Linked DNA regions of Homo sapiens: regions 2 and 3 are each linked to region 1. Evidence: promoter capture Hi-C in human tissues and cell types (Jung and others, 2019). All regions are on one chromosome and are shown on one strand. The core of a region is centred on a gene start or on the middle of the fragment in contact, and the rest is flanking DNA. Distances in the headings are between cores, read along the strand shown.

The links. Contacts are between HindIII fragments. The study calls those that stand out against the background at their distance.
Region 2: a fragment that was not itself captured here is called in contact with the fragment with the promoter of MTHFS in region 1 in 1 of the 25 tissues and cell types used here (lymphoblastoid cells).
Region 3: a fragment that was not itself captured here is called in contact with the fragment with the promoter of MTHFS in region 1 in 3 of the 25 tissues and cell types used here (IMR-90 fibroblasts, lymphoblastoid cells and spleen).

The regions. Positions count from the first base shown.
Region 1 is chr15:79,894,224-79,899,282 of GRCh38, reverse strand. MTHFS (methenyltetrahydrofolate synthetase) reads left to right here and starts at 2,269. Exons shown (of 3, transcript NM_006441.4): 1 at 2,269-2,411. The coding sequence starts at 2,295. All of the region lies in intron 2 of ST20-MTHFS (ST20-MTHFS readthrough), which reads left to right. It overlaps ST20 (suppressor of tumorigenicity 20), which reads left to right. Exons shown (of 3, transcript NR_037653.2): 3 at 158-441. RefSeq lists an enhancer at 1,771-1,820 and a silencer at 1,961-2,260. The HindIII fragment of the contact is 7,261 bases long and covers 1-5,059 here.
Region 2 is chr15:80,078,890-80,083,948 of GRCh38, reverse strand. All of the region lies in intron 1 of ZFAND6 (zinc finger AN1-type containing 6), which reads right to left. Among named protein-coding and RNA genes, the nearest start is that of ZFAND6, 22 kb to the right of the region's middle. The HindIII fragment of the contact is 4,595 bases long and covers 431-5,025 here.
Region 3 is chr15:80,036,872-80,041,930 of GRCh38, reverse strand. No RefSeq gene overlaps it. Among named protein-coding and RNA genes, the nearest start is that of ZFAND6, 20 kb to the left of the region's middle. RefSeq lists an enhancer at 1,723-2,222. The HindIII fragment of the contact is 5,767 bases long and covers 24-5,059 here.

The sequences.
Region 1 (5,059 bases), core at 1,020-3,519:
AATTACAGATGTAGGCCACACTGTGTTTCTGTTACACAATGCTCCTTTAGAGGGATAGAAGATTATTTGCATTATTTAAATGAAAATATTTTTGCTTTTTATTCCAGCATACTTAATCTCCAATGATTTTTAAAATGTTAAATTTATTCTCTCATAGGAAAATGGCTTTGTAAAGAAGCTTGAGCCTAAATCTGGCTGGATGACTTTTCTAGAAGTTACAGGAAAGATCTGTGAAATGCTCTTCTGTCCTGAAGCAATACTGTTGACCAGAAAGGACACTCCATATTGTGAAACCGGCCTAATTTTTCTGACTCTTACGAAAACGATTGCCAACACATACTTCTACTTTTAAATAAACAACTTTGATGATGTAACTTGACCTTCCAGAGTTACAGAAATTTTGTCCCTATTTAATGAATAAATTGTATGTATTTTTCTCTATATGCCATTTTTGTCTTCAGTTTTGGAGTCTGGCTGGAAATTCAGCCAAAGGGTAAAAGCTCAACACAGGATCCAGGCAATTAATTATGGGATGATGACCAGGAAGGCGGTGTCTTTTCTGCCCCAGGCAGACTTTTAAGGTGTGCCATTACCCCAAAAGTCCTTTTCTGTGTCACTAGGCTAGACTGCAGACTAGACTGAGAAGCGGACTCAGGCTAGAAGCAGACTCAGGTCGGCTTCCCTCTTCCCTCCTTCCTTCCCATGCTTTCTGCAGTTTCCAGTGCCCCTGGCTGCTTAAGAGTTTCCATTGATGCCTCCTCCCCAGCCTTCTCTCTCTGGCTTGCCATTTGGGGTTGATGGATATGGCAACCTGATATGCAGGATACTCTGGGATATTCTGAACAAAGAAAATTGGTAAATGATTCAACGTGGAGCTAGTGTTAATTTTAATTTTTATTTTTTGGTAAAAATGAACAGATTAGAAAAGTACGTAGTTTGTTAGACCTCGTGTTCTAACTTTTAGGTCAGCAAATCTAATTGCACTATGTATACGCTGTACCTGCCTGGCCTTCCCTTTTTCTTACAACACAGTCCCCCTGGGACTTGCATTAGCTTTCCCTGGAAGCTGTTGATAGATTCCATAAAGAAGCCAGAACTCCCCTCTCAAGCCATGTGCATTCTCACCGGGCACTTAATTAATGCTTTACCTAGGAGGTGTGATTCTTAACGGTGGGGATTAAGACACTGGGGCGGTCAGTAGGGACGTATTTTTGGCAGAGACAGCTCTGGTTTTCTTAGGAAGTCACATCTGAGAGGCAACCGTCTATGCCATCTGAGGCGCCTGTCTACTGGGAGCAGTTTAAGACTTAACAGTTTCTTTTACCTCTTCCTGCAAGTGCCTCACCCACCCCCCAACTGCTTTTAGTTTTAATTCATTTTTGTGTTTTAATCAGAGCTGAGTGGTGGGAATGAACAGTCACTGATGGTTATAACAGGAAGTACCTATGTGGGCACTATTACCTGGAATACATTCACACTAGAAACCCGCAAAATTTGGCTTTTACACTACAGTTATTGCTTTAGCAGTGTTCCCGATTATGTATCATCTATACATTCATCACATAAGGACATTTCCATCAACCACTGTGGTCCCTTAAGATTATAATGGAGCTGAAAAATTCCTAATACCTACTGATGTGGTAGCCAACCAACACATTACCTTTTCTGTGTTTAGATACACAAGTATCACGGTGCTTACAATTGCCTACAGTATTCGGTACAAAATACGCTGTACAGGTGTGTAGCATAGGTGTGTAGTAACTTTGTGTAACTACACTCTGATGTTTGCACAAGAAGGAAATCGGGGCATCTGTCAGACCTATCCCTGTAGTTAAGCGACTCGTGACGATTTCGCTACATGTCCTGCCTTGCCCTTCTTTTCTGGCCCCTGAAGTCCCACTACTGAACAGTACAAGAGATGCCAGGCACCGTGGGTACTGCCGGCCATCTTTACCATCCCCGCCAGTGGCGCTGCCGCCTCCGCGGTCCCGGTGAGGGCCCAGGCTCAGGGAGGTCAGGCGGCAGGGCAGCGACGGCGCCTCGCCACCGCTCCCCTAACCGGGGAGGGCGAGCCGGACCACGGGGACCGCACGAGGGCTGGGTCCCAAGGGCCAGAGGCGAGGTAAGCGCGCGGCGCGCCGCGGGCCCGCGTCCCGGAAGCGGGGTGGGGGCGCTTCCCCGAGCCCCGACCCGCCCCTAGGCCGCGGATCCACCTGGGAGCGGCCAGGGGCGGAGACCGAACCCGAGGGCGCCCAGGGCGCCGAGGGCGGGACTGGACTCGGCTTGGGCGTGAGATGGCGGCGGCAGCGGTGAGCAGCGCCAAGCGGAGCCTGCGGGGAGAGCTGAAGCAGCGTCTGCGGGCGATGAGTGCCGAGGAGCGGCTACGCCAGTCCCGCGTACTGAGCCAGAAGGTGCGAGGCCGCCCGTAGCGGAAGCCGCGGCGGACAGACCCTCCGAAGGCCTGGCGGCCAGCGATTGCTGATCTGTGCATGGTCCGTGCTGGCGCTGGGCTAGGCGCCCCCCCACCCCCCGGCGCGCGCACGTTTCCCCTCCCGGCGCGCGCACGCCCCCTAGTCGTGGTCTGGACGCTCTTGGCACTATGGCGGGGAGAGGGCCCGGTAGTGAAAGTTGTGGGGCTAAAGAGCGAGAGGACGGCAGGGGTTGACAGATTTATCTCTGGGAGGGGAGTTTGTTTGCATGGGTGGCTCTTTTGGTGCTCGAAAACCCTCCGTGGGGATGACGGTGCTGTGGTGAGAGCACGGTGAGAACAGAAAGTTGTGGTAGAGGAGATGGGTGAACACCTGAGTGCCCAGGTTCCCTCAGTGAGGCCTAAAGTTAATGAGCTACGAGTAAGACTCCGGTTATATTAGTAAAATGGCCAGAGAAAGATGCAGGTGCTTTAGACGAGGGAACACCAAAAAAGGTGTGGAGATGCCAAAGGGCAGAACTCAGAGGTTGACTGGACTTCACTAAGCATATGGAGGGCTAAGGCTGTGTCTCAGTAGCTCCAGGGCCTAGGCTTTTCCTGTCTCAGAGTTGGTCAACATTAAATGCTTTTTCTTGAGTGAACGAAAGGAAGACTTGGCTATCATATCCAGGCTTCCCAAGAACGTAGGAAACAGAAGAGAGAAATGAGAGGAATAAGTGAGGGTCCGTGTTTGTTGGTTAGCAGACCTCTGTTTCATTACTTTCACCAACTGCACTGCTATGTATTTTTAGTCTATGTAATGTCAGTTTTCTTATCAATAAAATGGCAGTCATATCCTGTTGTGAAGGCATGTTCTAAAGAGTTTTTGGGGACTCATTTTTGTTAGACACCAGAGGAAGAAAAATTTAATGTCCCCTGAATAAGTACGTATTTGTAATTCTGTTGTAAGTCAAACTGATGATCTGTCTTCCCAGCATCATGCTTCAGAGACACCAGATATTTGGAAACTTGATGTTCCTTGGAATTAGTTATACCATCAGGCTTTCTTAATTACCCTTCACTATTCTATTATCCGTTATTTACTCAAATTCAAGGTGCCTATGGGTTAAAGCAGTAAAGCATATATGCTCATTTCACCCCTCTCTTCATCTATGTAGGTGTGTATGAGGGAATCTATACAGATGTTAATTCGTTCGTTCAAACAGAATTATTTTAGCTATTATGAGGAAGCATTGCTGGGTGTTTTAGTAGATGTAAAGGATATAGACTCTTGTCCTTACTATCTAGTTGTTTAAAATTTAGCTAATTCATTCACATATGTTGAACACCTATGTAGTGCACACTTGGCTATATACTGGGTTGTGGAGATGAAAAAGATATGATTGTTGCTCTAAAGGAGCAGAGAGCCTAGAAGAGGAAACAGACATGAATAAAGAATTGCATTGAAGCCAGATATATGATAAAGGTAAACACCAATGTTGTGGAAACATAGCCTTGGGGAGGGGAAATTGGAAAGCTTTCTATTGGAAAATGTTTGAGATGAATTTCGGAGAACAAGATGAATTCTTTCAGGTGAAGGGAAAGATGGGATAGGGGAGTGTGAGTAGGGATATTTAGGCAAGAGATGACAGGATACAGTTTAGCATGGGCTTTGGAACTGCACAGATCTGGGCTGAATCTGGCGCCATTGTTTTTTAACTGTATATCCTTGGACAGGTCTCATAATCTCTCAGAACCTTTGGTTCCTTGTCTATAAAATGGATAATATCACTCTTGTAGGTCGATTGTGAGAGTTAAAGAAGTGTGTAAAGGGATGTATTCAGAGCTTTACCTATTGTTTGTTATGTCCTTTAGGAAGAGTATAATGGCAGCATTTGGATAATGGGTTGAGGAAGGAAGAAAGAAAAAAAATATGGAGACCAGTAAGGGGCTGTTGTGCCAATTCAAGTGAAAGATGAAAAATATGCAAACCAGAGCATGGGCAGTGAAGATGAGGGGAAAGGAGGCAAATGGGAGACTGTTAAGTGAGAAACAGCAGGACTTGGCAACTGATTGGAAGAGGTTAGAGAATACTGGAAGGGGAGGAGAGTCACCAGTGATTCCAAAATTTAGAGCTTGGTATAATGGTGTTTAGCCTTAGGCATAAAGAAGGTAGGAATTGGAACAAATTTTGGAGGGGCATGGGGAAAATAAAGATGAATTCAGTTTCTAATCTTCTACGTTGTCTTTCTCCGTAGAAGATTAGAATTCATAAACTATAGATGGAAATAGTTTACATAGATACAGAGTCACTGACAGCAATAGAATGACGACTGAGAGCTGGCATTAAAGGAGGAGAGAGAAAAATTAAAAAGCAGACCCATGACCCTCAGTAATAAATACATTTTACTCTGTACAAACAAATATACACATACAAGGAACATTTTACAGCTCTTAAGCACATACAATGAAATTTAATATTTTCTTTTTTTTTCAAGACAGAGTCTTGCTCTGTCGCCCAGGCTGGAGTGCGGTGGCATGATCTCGGCTCACTGCAACCTCTGCCTCCCACGTTCAAGCGATTCTCCTGCCTCAGCCTCCCAAGTAGCTGGGATTACAGGCACGTGCCGCCATGCTCAGCTAATTTTTCTA
Region 2 (5,059 bases), core at 1,479-3,978, 180 kb before region 1:
AATAGGTTTAGCTCATCTTGTCTATGAAGCCTCATTCTCCTGCCATTTTTCCTCCTGGGCCCTAAAGCTCTCAACTTCCATGCTTTTGAGAAGGAATTTCGCTCTGTTGCCCAGGCTGGAGTGCAATGGCATGATCTGAGCTCACCGCAACCTCCTCAGCCTCCTGAGTAGCTGGGATTACAGATGCTCACCACCATGCCCAGCTGATTTTTATATTTTTAGTAGATACACGGTTTCACCACGTTGGCCAGGCTAGTCTCAAACTCCTGACATTGGCTTCCTGAAGTGCTGGGATTACAGGCATGAGCCACTGTGCCCAGCCTAACTTCCATGCTTAATCATCTCCATGAACACGCTTTTCTCTAAAGTTACAAGGCTTACCTAACATCCCTTTCACTCACTCTGGTTAACTTTTATTTATTTTCTAAGTCTTAGCACAGCCACTTTACAGTCTTCTCTGACTCTGCTCCAATGATAATCTGGTCTCTTTTCTCCCTCATTATCATTTAATATAAATTCTCTGCATGTTTCCCCAACATATCATAAGTTCTTAGCATAGCACCCAGTAGTTGCTTAAGAAACCTGTGCAGAATTTATTATTATGGATAATACCACCACCAATTCACAGGGCTGGGAGGTTTAAAATAACGTATGTATAGGCCAGGTGCGGTGGCTCATGCTTGTAATCCCAGCACTTTGGGAGGCCGAAGCGGGCGGATCACGAGGTCAGGAGATTGAGACCATCCCAGCTAACACGGTGAAACCCCGTCTCTACTAAAAAATACAAAAATTAGCCAGGCGTGGTGGCAGGTGCCTGTAGTCCCAGCTACTCGGGAGGCTGAGGCAGGAGAATGGCGTGAACCCAGGAGGCGGAGCTTGCAGTGAGCCAAGATCGCGCCACTGCACTCCAGCCTGGGCGACAGAGTGAGACTCCATTTCAAAATAAATAAATAAATAAAATAACATATGTATATATGTATAGGATACATAGTAGGTGCTCAGTCCACCATCATTTTTTCTATCCCATATCCACCTCAGAGAAAACTTTATAAAAGAAAATTAAGGGAGGTGAGGGCAGTTCAATTGAATAATAAATTTCTAAGATGGAATTCTGATTTTTAGTTCATAGGAAATCAAAGAACCAGAAGATATAAACTCAGCAAAACAAGGAGGGAAGCATGGTCCAATCCTCATAATAAACTCCTTAAATATCTGGAACTCTTACCAGTTTCCATCCTTTGACACTCACTAAAATAAGAATGAATAATCCCTGCTATATCCATCTGTCAATCTTTCCTACCTTTCCCAGAAAGTCACTTGACAGTGATATTGAGATACCAAACCCAAAGGTTTAGGAACATTAGTAAAATTACTCACATTACCACAGAACTTCAAAAACAACAACTGGTAGTCTCCCTGCCTTGAATTCCTCTCCCTAAGTAAACCTTCCCTCTCTAAGTAAACCTGAATAGCAAGATCATGCTCTGGTATCAGCCTTCCCAATTTCAATCTAGGCTCTGCCACATAACCTTTGTCAATTTGTCCTATCTGTCTATAAACCTGTTTAACCTTTGTCAATTTTTCCTATCTCTCTATAAACTTAGCATTATCATCTGCGAAATAGGCACAACAATAATACCCATCTCATGATATTGTGAGAACTTAAAGTTAATGTGTCTGATAGTGTCCAATATGAGTTGCAATTAAATTAATATTCCAAACCCTGTTTTTACCACTTATTTGCATAGAAGCCTTCATAATTCACCACTGCTCACAGTCACACCATTCCCATATCCTATGTATACTCCATACCTCTTCCCCACCTGGGCTTACTGGAAAAATGAGAAATTAAATGGCACCTGCTAAACCAGCAAAATTTTGGTTGGCATATCCAGAATCTATTACTCCCTCCATTTTGCCATTCCAGGATTGCCTCTTTCCGGGTAAATAAAGCTTTTAGTGTACATCCAGTCTCAAACCTATCTAACAAATCTTCAAGGAATGTCTCAGATTTTACTTTTTCTAATTTTCTTATTATCTTGGCTTATCTTTCTTCCCACTTGAACTTCTACAGCAATCATCTATAACAAACACAAGTTTGCACTCAGTAATATATGATCCTGACATTAAACTAAATTAAGTCTGGCCCGAGGCTGCCTCCATCCATATTTTAGGTTTGGCCCAAAGTTTCTCTCTACATAGTGCACTATAAAGTTAACTTGATATGTAAGCAGACTGTAACCTACTCTTGTAATAAGTAGCCAAGTCTCAGCCAATCACAGTAGCTGAGTTTCAGCCAATCATAGGTGGCCAACTGTTCAAATTGTGTTCAGATGAGGCAAAGGCTGAGCTGTAACTAATCTAGCTGTTACTGTACCTCACTTCCCTTTGCTGTATGCATGTCACTTCCCTTTTCTTGACCATAAATGTTATCTGACAATATGTTATTTGACAATACGGTACTCTGCAGTCCTCCTGAACTGTTCTGGTTCTGGGAGCTGCTTGGTTCTTGAATCGCTTTTTGCTCAATTAAATTCCATTAAATTTGTCTAAAGTCTTTAACACTGACTTATCAGATAGGAAATACTCATATCCCCTACTTTTATCAAACAGTATGTGAGTTTCCTCCAGAAAAGGACCATTTTACAGTACTTTACAAGCTCATCTGACTGTGTAACTAGTCTGACTATCTGACTAGGCTGTATGCACACAACTCAATAAAAATTTGTTACTGAAACAATTATTTTAGGCAATCAATGTCACCTTTTCAGTGTAGGTTTTCATTTGAAAGTCTGCAAAGAATAAATTTTTTCTACAAAAAGTAAATGTATTTTTTAAATTCCTACAGCTACTGAGACTTAGTATTCATTCAGAGAAAAGATAACCTTACAGTAGTCCACCCTTATCAACTGATAAAGTTTGTGTATTTGTCCCCACTCAAATCTCATGGTGAACTGTAATCCCCAGTATCGGAGGTGGGGCCTGATGGGAGGTGACTGGATGATGGGGATGGAGGAGTTCTCATGAATAGCTTAACACCATCCCCTTGGTGCTGTCCTTGAGATAGTTTTCACAAGATCTGGCTGCTTAAAAGTGTGTGGTACCTCTCCGCACCCCACTCTCTTTAGCTCCTGGCTTTTGTCATGTGATGCACCAGCTCCCTCTTTGCTTCCGCAGTGATTGTAAGCTTCCTGAGGCATGATCACAAGCTGAGCAGATCTCTGGTGCCATGTCTCCTGCACAGCCTGAAGAACCATGAGCCAATTAAACCTCTTTTTATACTCAGTCTCACGTATTTCTGTATAGTAATGCAAGAATGACCTAACACATCCAAGATTTCATTGTCGGCTGTTTCAGTTACCTGAGATCAACCACAGCCTGAAGATACTAAGATATTTTGAGAGAAAGAGGGAGGGAGATGATATCACATAACTTTTATTACAGTATAATTATTCTATTATTGTTAATGTCTTACTATGTCTAATTTATAAAACTATGTCATAGGTATTTATGTATAGGACAAAACACAGCAAATATAGGTTTGGTACTATCCACAGTGGGTCTTCAAACATATCTCCCATGAATAAGGGGCAACTACTGTATATATAATTTTAAACAATTATCTACAAAATTTAAGAAAACTGGTTGTGTAGGCCGGGTGCAGTGGCTCATGCCTGTAACCCTAGCCCTTTGGGAGGCCGAAGTGGGTGGATCACCCGAGGTCAGGAATTCAAGACCAGCCTGGCCAACATGGTGAAACCCCGTAGCTACTAAAATACAAAAATTAGCTGGTCATGATGGTGGGTGCCTGTAATCCCAGCTACTCGGAGGCTGAGACGGGAGAACTGCTTGAACCCTGGAGATGGTGGTTGCAGTGACTGGAGATTGCACCACTGCACTCCAGCCTGGGTGGGTGAGCAAGACTCTATCTCAAAGAAAAAAAAAAGAAAGGGAAAAAAAACAGAAAAACGGTTGTGTATTCTGTTTCTCAAAGCTAAGGGCCAGGCGTGGTGGCTCATGCCTGTAATCCAGCATTTTGGGAGGCCGAGGCAGGTGGATCACAAGGTCAGGAGATCGAGACCATCCTGGCTACGGTGAAACCCCGACTCTACTAAAAATACAAAAAATTAGCTAGCTGGGCGTGGTGGCGGGCGCCTGTAGTCCCAGCTACTCGGGGAGGCTAAGGCAGGAGGATGGCATGAACCTGGGAGGCAGAGCTTGCAGTGAGCCAAGTTTGCGCCACTGCACTCCAGCCTGGGCGACACAGCGAGACTCCATTTCAAAAAAAAAAAAAAAAAAGCTAAGGAAAACATTCTTTTCAAATTATATATCACATAAATCTATTATAACATTCAAAATCTATTGTCATTATTTTACATTTTTATTATTTAATGTATACCAAAAGAACAGCAAAAGAAAGAACAGAGTAGGCCGGGTGCGGTGGCTCACGCCTGTAATCCCAGCACTTTGGGAGGCCGAGGTGGGCGGATCATGAGGTCAGGAGATCGAGACCATCCTGGCTAACACGGTGAAACCCCGTCTCTACTAAAAATCCAAAAAATTAGCCAAGCGTGGTGGCGGGTGCCTGTGGTCCCAGCTACTTGGGAGGCTGAGGCAGGAGAATGGCGTGAACCCAGGAGGCGGAGCTTGCAGTGAGCCGAGATCGCGCCACTGCACTCCAGCCTGGGCGACAGAGCGAGACTCCGTCTCCAAAAAAAAAGGAAAGAAAGAACAGAGTAAACAGATAATCTACAGAATAGGAGAAAATACTCACAAACTGCACCTCTGACAAAGGTCTAATATCCAGAATTCAACAAGCAAGAAACAAATAATCCCATTAAAAAACGAGCAAAAGAACACATACTTCTCAAAAGAAGACACACTCTGGGGACTGTTGTGGGGTGGCGGGAGGGGGGAGGGATAGCATTAGGAGATATACCTAATGCTAAATGACAAATTAATGGGTGCAGCACACCAGCATGGCACATGTATACATATGTAACTAACCCGCACACTGTGCACATGTACCCTAAAACTTAAAGTATAATAATAATAAAAT
Region 3 (5,059 bases), core at 1,658-4,157, 140 kb before region 1:
CACACACTCAGCAGAGCATGCACTCACACTCACCAGCACACACATGCATATGTAGTTAAAACCAGTCCCACATGTATTCTAGGAGCCCACTGAAATCTCCTCTTATTCACCTGCTGCTCCAATCCCTGCCTCCTGCCTAACTCCAAATCTGACATGGATTCCTCATGTGGAGGTGGACTGTGCCCTCTTTGGAGGCTCAAGCACACTGGCATTCAGGGAGTTCAGAGTATAAGTGGATGAGAGTGTGGTGCACAGCCAGGCCATGCCAGAGCCAGGCCACACTCTGGAAAGCACCCTTGGCAGAGCTAATCAGATTGTGCTAACTTAAAAAATACTTATTTGATAAAGGAGTGCCTTTTTCTAAATCCAGTAAAGGCATTGAATAGGCCGGTGAAGGCTCTGTAGATTTCTACGTGTATGTAAAAGGCAGGTTGCAGAACAATAGGTACTGTGTGAATCCAGTAGATAAATATGTTCATATATGTAAATGCATAGAAGAGAGACTGTTACAGTGGCTATTGCTGGACAGGAATATGGGTGGGGAAAAGAGGAAGGCAAACTGCTCTCTTTTCTTCCTTATAGTTTGAATTCGTTTGTTTGTTTGAGAGAGGGTCTGGCTCTATCCCCTGGGCTGTAGTACAGTGGTGGGATCTCAGCTCACTGCAATCTCTGCCTCCTGGGCTCAGGCAATTCTCCCACTTCAGCCTTCAGAATAGCTGGGAGTACAGGTGCATACTACAATACCCTGCTAGTTTTTTTGTATTTTTAGTAGAGATGGAGTTTCGCCATGTTGCCCAGACTGGTCTCAAACTCCTGGGCTCAGGTGATCGAGGCACCTAAGCCTCCCAAAGTGCTGGGATTACAGGTGTGAGCCACTGCGCCTGGCCTCTTCCTTATAGTTTGAATTTTTTTTAATGTGAATGTATCTACATACTACTTGTGTAATTTAAAAAATAAGTTAAAATCAGAAATAACAAAGAAGTGCCAAAGTGAGGTTTAACAACTATAGCCATTCAGTAAAATACTTCAGTTTATAAAAAGTCTAGAAGTTATCTTTGAAAGTTAAGTGAATAAAGCAGGAGAGAACATTCTATGAATATGCCAATAATATTTTAAGTGAAAAGGCAAGTCACAGAACAGTACTATGTTAAGATCCTATCTGTGTTAAAAATGTAGACACATGTATACCTACAAATGAAATAAATGCCTGTAAAGATAGATACCAAATTGAAAATAGGGGTTATTATCTCTGAGGGATGGTTTTGAGGCTAAGAGAAAGCTTATTTATGAGTGTTTGAATTTTTTCTAATGAAAATATATTAATTTTATAATAAAAATAAATTATAAACAGATACATAAAGTATGTGTTTATATAAACACATGTATTGTGTATATATATGTGTATTTTAAAATATCTATAACTATCTCCTATTTGTAAATATATATACATATTTAAATATATACACACATACACGTATAAATGTAAACACATATATGCCTAGGAAAATAGATGTTTATATTTATATATACACGTGTATATATTTATATATGTATATATATATTTACATATGTGGCATTATAGGTGATGATTACTATTGGCTTTTTTATTCATGTGTTTTTCATATTTTCACCAATTTTATAATCTAGTAAGAATTTTTTTAAAAACGAAAAGGTTATAAAAAAAGGAAAAACCTAATAAAATTGTATAGTATAATCACTAGTGAGTGAAAGTAAGCATAAATTTTGTACATGGAAAAAAAATCTAGGAAAAACTAGAATTAGTGGAAATTTAGATGTTAAAACTTTTTTTTTTCCTCTTTTTATTCCCCCCAAGTCTATGATAATGAATGAATATTAGTTCCGGTGCTAGAAGAAAGTATAATGTAAAAATGTAAATATTTATTAGGTGCACCCAAAGATCATCATTTTAGAGATGGAGAAACTTAGGGGCAAGCAGGGGCATTGGCTGCTAAAGGGGGTGCAGGCTGAGGCAGGTCTCACCTCTGGGTTCTAGAGCTCCTTCCAGCCCCCTTCAAGCTGCCATCACATTTCTGTTCTCGAGTTTGGAGAAAAGGGACACACACCGGTTGGTGCCCGTGCTGGCAGTCTGCTCACATCACACCTAACTGAGGGGTCTCCCCAGGGCCTTGAGCTCCTGGCTGGCTAATTCTACTTAGTGCTAGGGTAACTGAGGTCAGACATCCATGAGGTGGCAAAGTGGGGTGATCAGTTTGTCCCAGTTTGCCTCAGATTTCCCCAGTTTTAGCACCTAAAATCCTGCATTCCAGGAAATCTCTTGGGCCTATAAAAACCAGAACAGGACCAGGCACGGTGGCTCACCCCTGCAATCCCAGTACTTTGGGAGGTCAAGGTGGGTGGATCACCTGAGGTCGGGAGGTGGGGAGTTCGAGACTGGCCTGGCCAACATGGTGAAACCCCGTCTCTATTAAAAATACAAAAATTAGCCGGGCGTGGTAGTAAATGCCTGTCGTCCCAGCTACTCGGGAAGCTGAGGCAGGAGAATCTCTTGAACCCAGGAGGCGGAGGTTTCAGTGAGCCAAGATCGTGCCACTGCACTACAGCCTGGGTGACAAAGCAAGACTCCATCTCAAACAACAACAACAACAACAACAGCAACACAGAACAGTTGGTCACCCTAGAGTGAATTGTGATTCCCAAGAACACCAAACTGGGAACCAGGAGATCACCATTCTCACCCGAACTCCCTGTGTGGTATTACCTCACCTCTCTGGGCCTCAGTTTGCTTATCAGTGAAACAGTATCATCTCCCCGGACTCTACCTTAAAGGGTCGTTTCAAATAAAAAAAAAATGTGAAATTACATTGTAAACTAAGGACTGTGTCCATAGGGGAGGGTCAGGGTGGACTTTGCCCTTGGGGGAGTCAGCTAGAGCCATGGAGGCATGACCACAGCGTTCTGATCACAGCTTACTCTCCATTCTCCTTGACATCCAAAGTCACGCCCACCTAAAATCCTCTCATGAGGTTAATCCAACAAGTCTTCAGCTCTGGTGAGGTGGGACTCCGAGGGTTCTACAAACTTTTTCTGTAAAAGCCTTTGATGGTTAATTTTTTTTTTTTTTTTTTTTGAGACAGAGTCTTGCTCTGTCGCGGCTGGAGTGCAGTGATGCAATCTCAGCTCACCGCAACCTCCACCTTCTGGATTCAAGTGATTCTTCTGCCTCAGCCTCCCAAGTAGCTGGGATTACAGGCGCGCACCATCACGCCCAGCTAATTTTTGTATTTTTAGTAGAGACAGGGTTTCACCATATTGGCCAGGCTGGTCTTGAACTCCTGACCTCGCAGTCCATCCACCTTGGCCTCCCAAAGTGCTGGGATTACAGGTGTGAGCCACGGCGCCTGGCTTTGATGGTTAATTTTATGTGTCAATTTGGCTGGACCACAGTACCCAGATATTTGGTCAGACATTATTCTGGATGTTTCTGTGAGAGTACATTTGGATGAGATTAACATTGAAATCAGTGGATTTTGAGTAAAGTTGGTTGCCCTCCACAATGTTGGTAGGCCTCATCCAATCAGTCAAAGGACTGAATGGTACAAAGACTGACCTCCCCTGAGGAAGAAGGCATCCTGCAGCAGACAGCCTTCAGACTCAAACTGCAACCTTGGCTCTTCCCAGGTCTTCAGCCTGCCAGTCCACCCTGCAGACTTTGGACTTGCCAGCCTCCATAATCACATGAGCCAGTTCCTTAAATCTCTCTCTCTTTTTTTCTTCCTTTCTCTCTATCCTATTGGTTCTGTTTCTATGGAAAACCCTGACTAGTACAAAATCCAAATAGAACATGTTTTAGGCTCTGCAGGTCATGTGATCTCTGTCACATCTACTCGACTCTCCCATTTTAGCTCAGAAGCAGCCATAAACAATACACAAGGTATTGTCCACCTTGGCCTGCTGACATTTGAGGCTGGATCATTGTTTGTTATGAAGGCTGTCCTGTGAACTGTAGGATATTTAGCAGCATCCTAGTCTCTACCCAGTTGATACCAGTAGCACTCCTCAGTTGTCACAACCCAAAATGTAACTGGGGGGAGGGAGGTCTGATATAAATAAATGAGCATGACTGTATTCTATTGAAACGTGATTTACAAAATAGGTGCTATTTTGTAGATACATTATTGTAAAACATTATTTACAAAATGGTTGGTTTGGCCCATGGGCCATAGTTTGCTCTAGGCAGCAGGGTCAACCAATGTCAGCAATGACCTGGAGCTTTGAGGAAGGAGACCCATCATCGGAGAGTGATGAGGGAGCCTGCAGGAGACCTGTAATGTCAAGCCAGATTCCCCTTCCAAAGCATTGGATGGAGCCAAGTCCCAGGCTGAGGATCCTTGCTATATCTTACCTGGAGGTTGTTGGGTCAGATGATGATGCTGTACCTTTGACAGTGCAGTTGCTGCAATGACGGGAGGCCTAAAAGAAGCTTTAATTTTCTTTTTTTTTTTTTTGGAGACAGAGTCTCGCTCTGTTGCCCAGGCTGGAGTGCAGTGGCGCGATCTCGGCTCACTGCAACCTCTGCCTCCTGGGTTCAAGCAGTTCTACTGCCTCAGCCACCCGAGTAGCTGGGACTACAGGTGCACGCTGCCACATCCAGCTAATTTTTTTTTTTGTATTTTAGTAGAGACGGGTTTTCACCGTGTTGCCCAGGCTGGTCTCAAACTCCTGAGCTCAGGTACTCCGCCTGCCTCAGCCTCCCAAAGTGTTCGGATTACAGGCGTGAGCCACCGTGCCGGGCCAAGAAGCTTGAATTTTCTTACTGTGCATCCCAGCTGGGGTTGAAGGTTTGTAGAAGAGGGGGATGTTAGGTGCCTCACCACATCTCCTCTGGGCTTCCCTAGTGGCCGCCTCATTTCCTTCTCACCGTTTCCACAATCTTCAATCCATCAAGAAACTGTATTTTTGAACCTTTTCGCATTTTCATTTGGCAGCCAAAGTAGGGTAGCCTGTTTCACATGGAAAGTAATTTTGTTTCACGCTTGTCTATCACCCTCTTAGCCCTGGCATGTAAATAGGGGAGAAG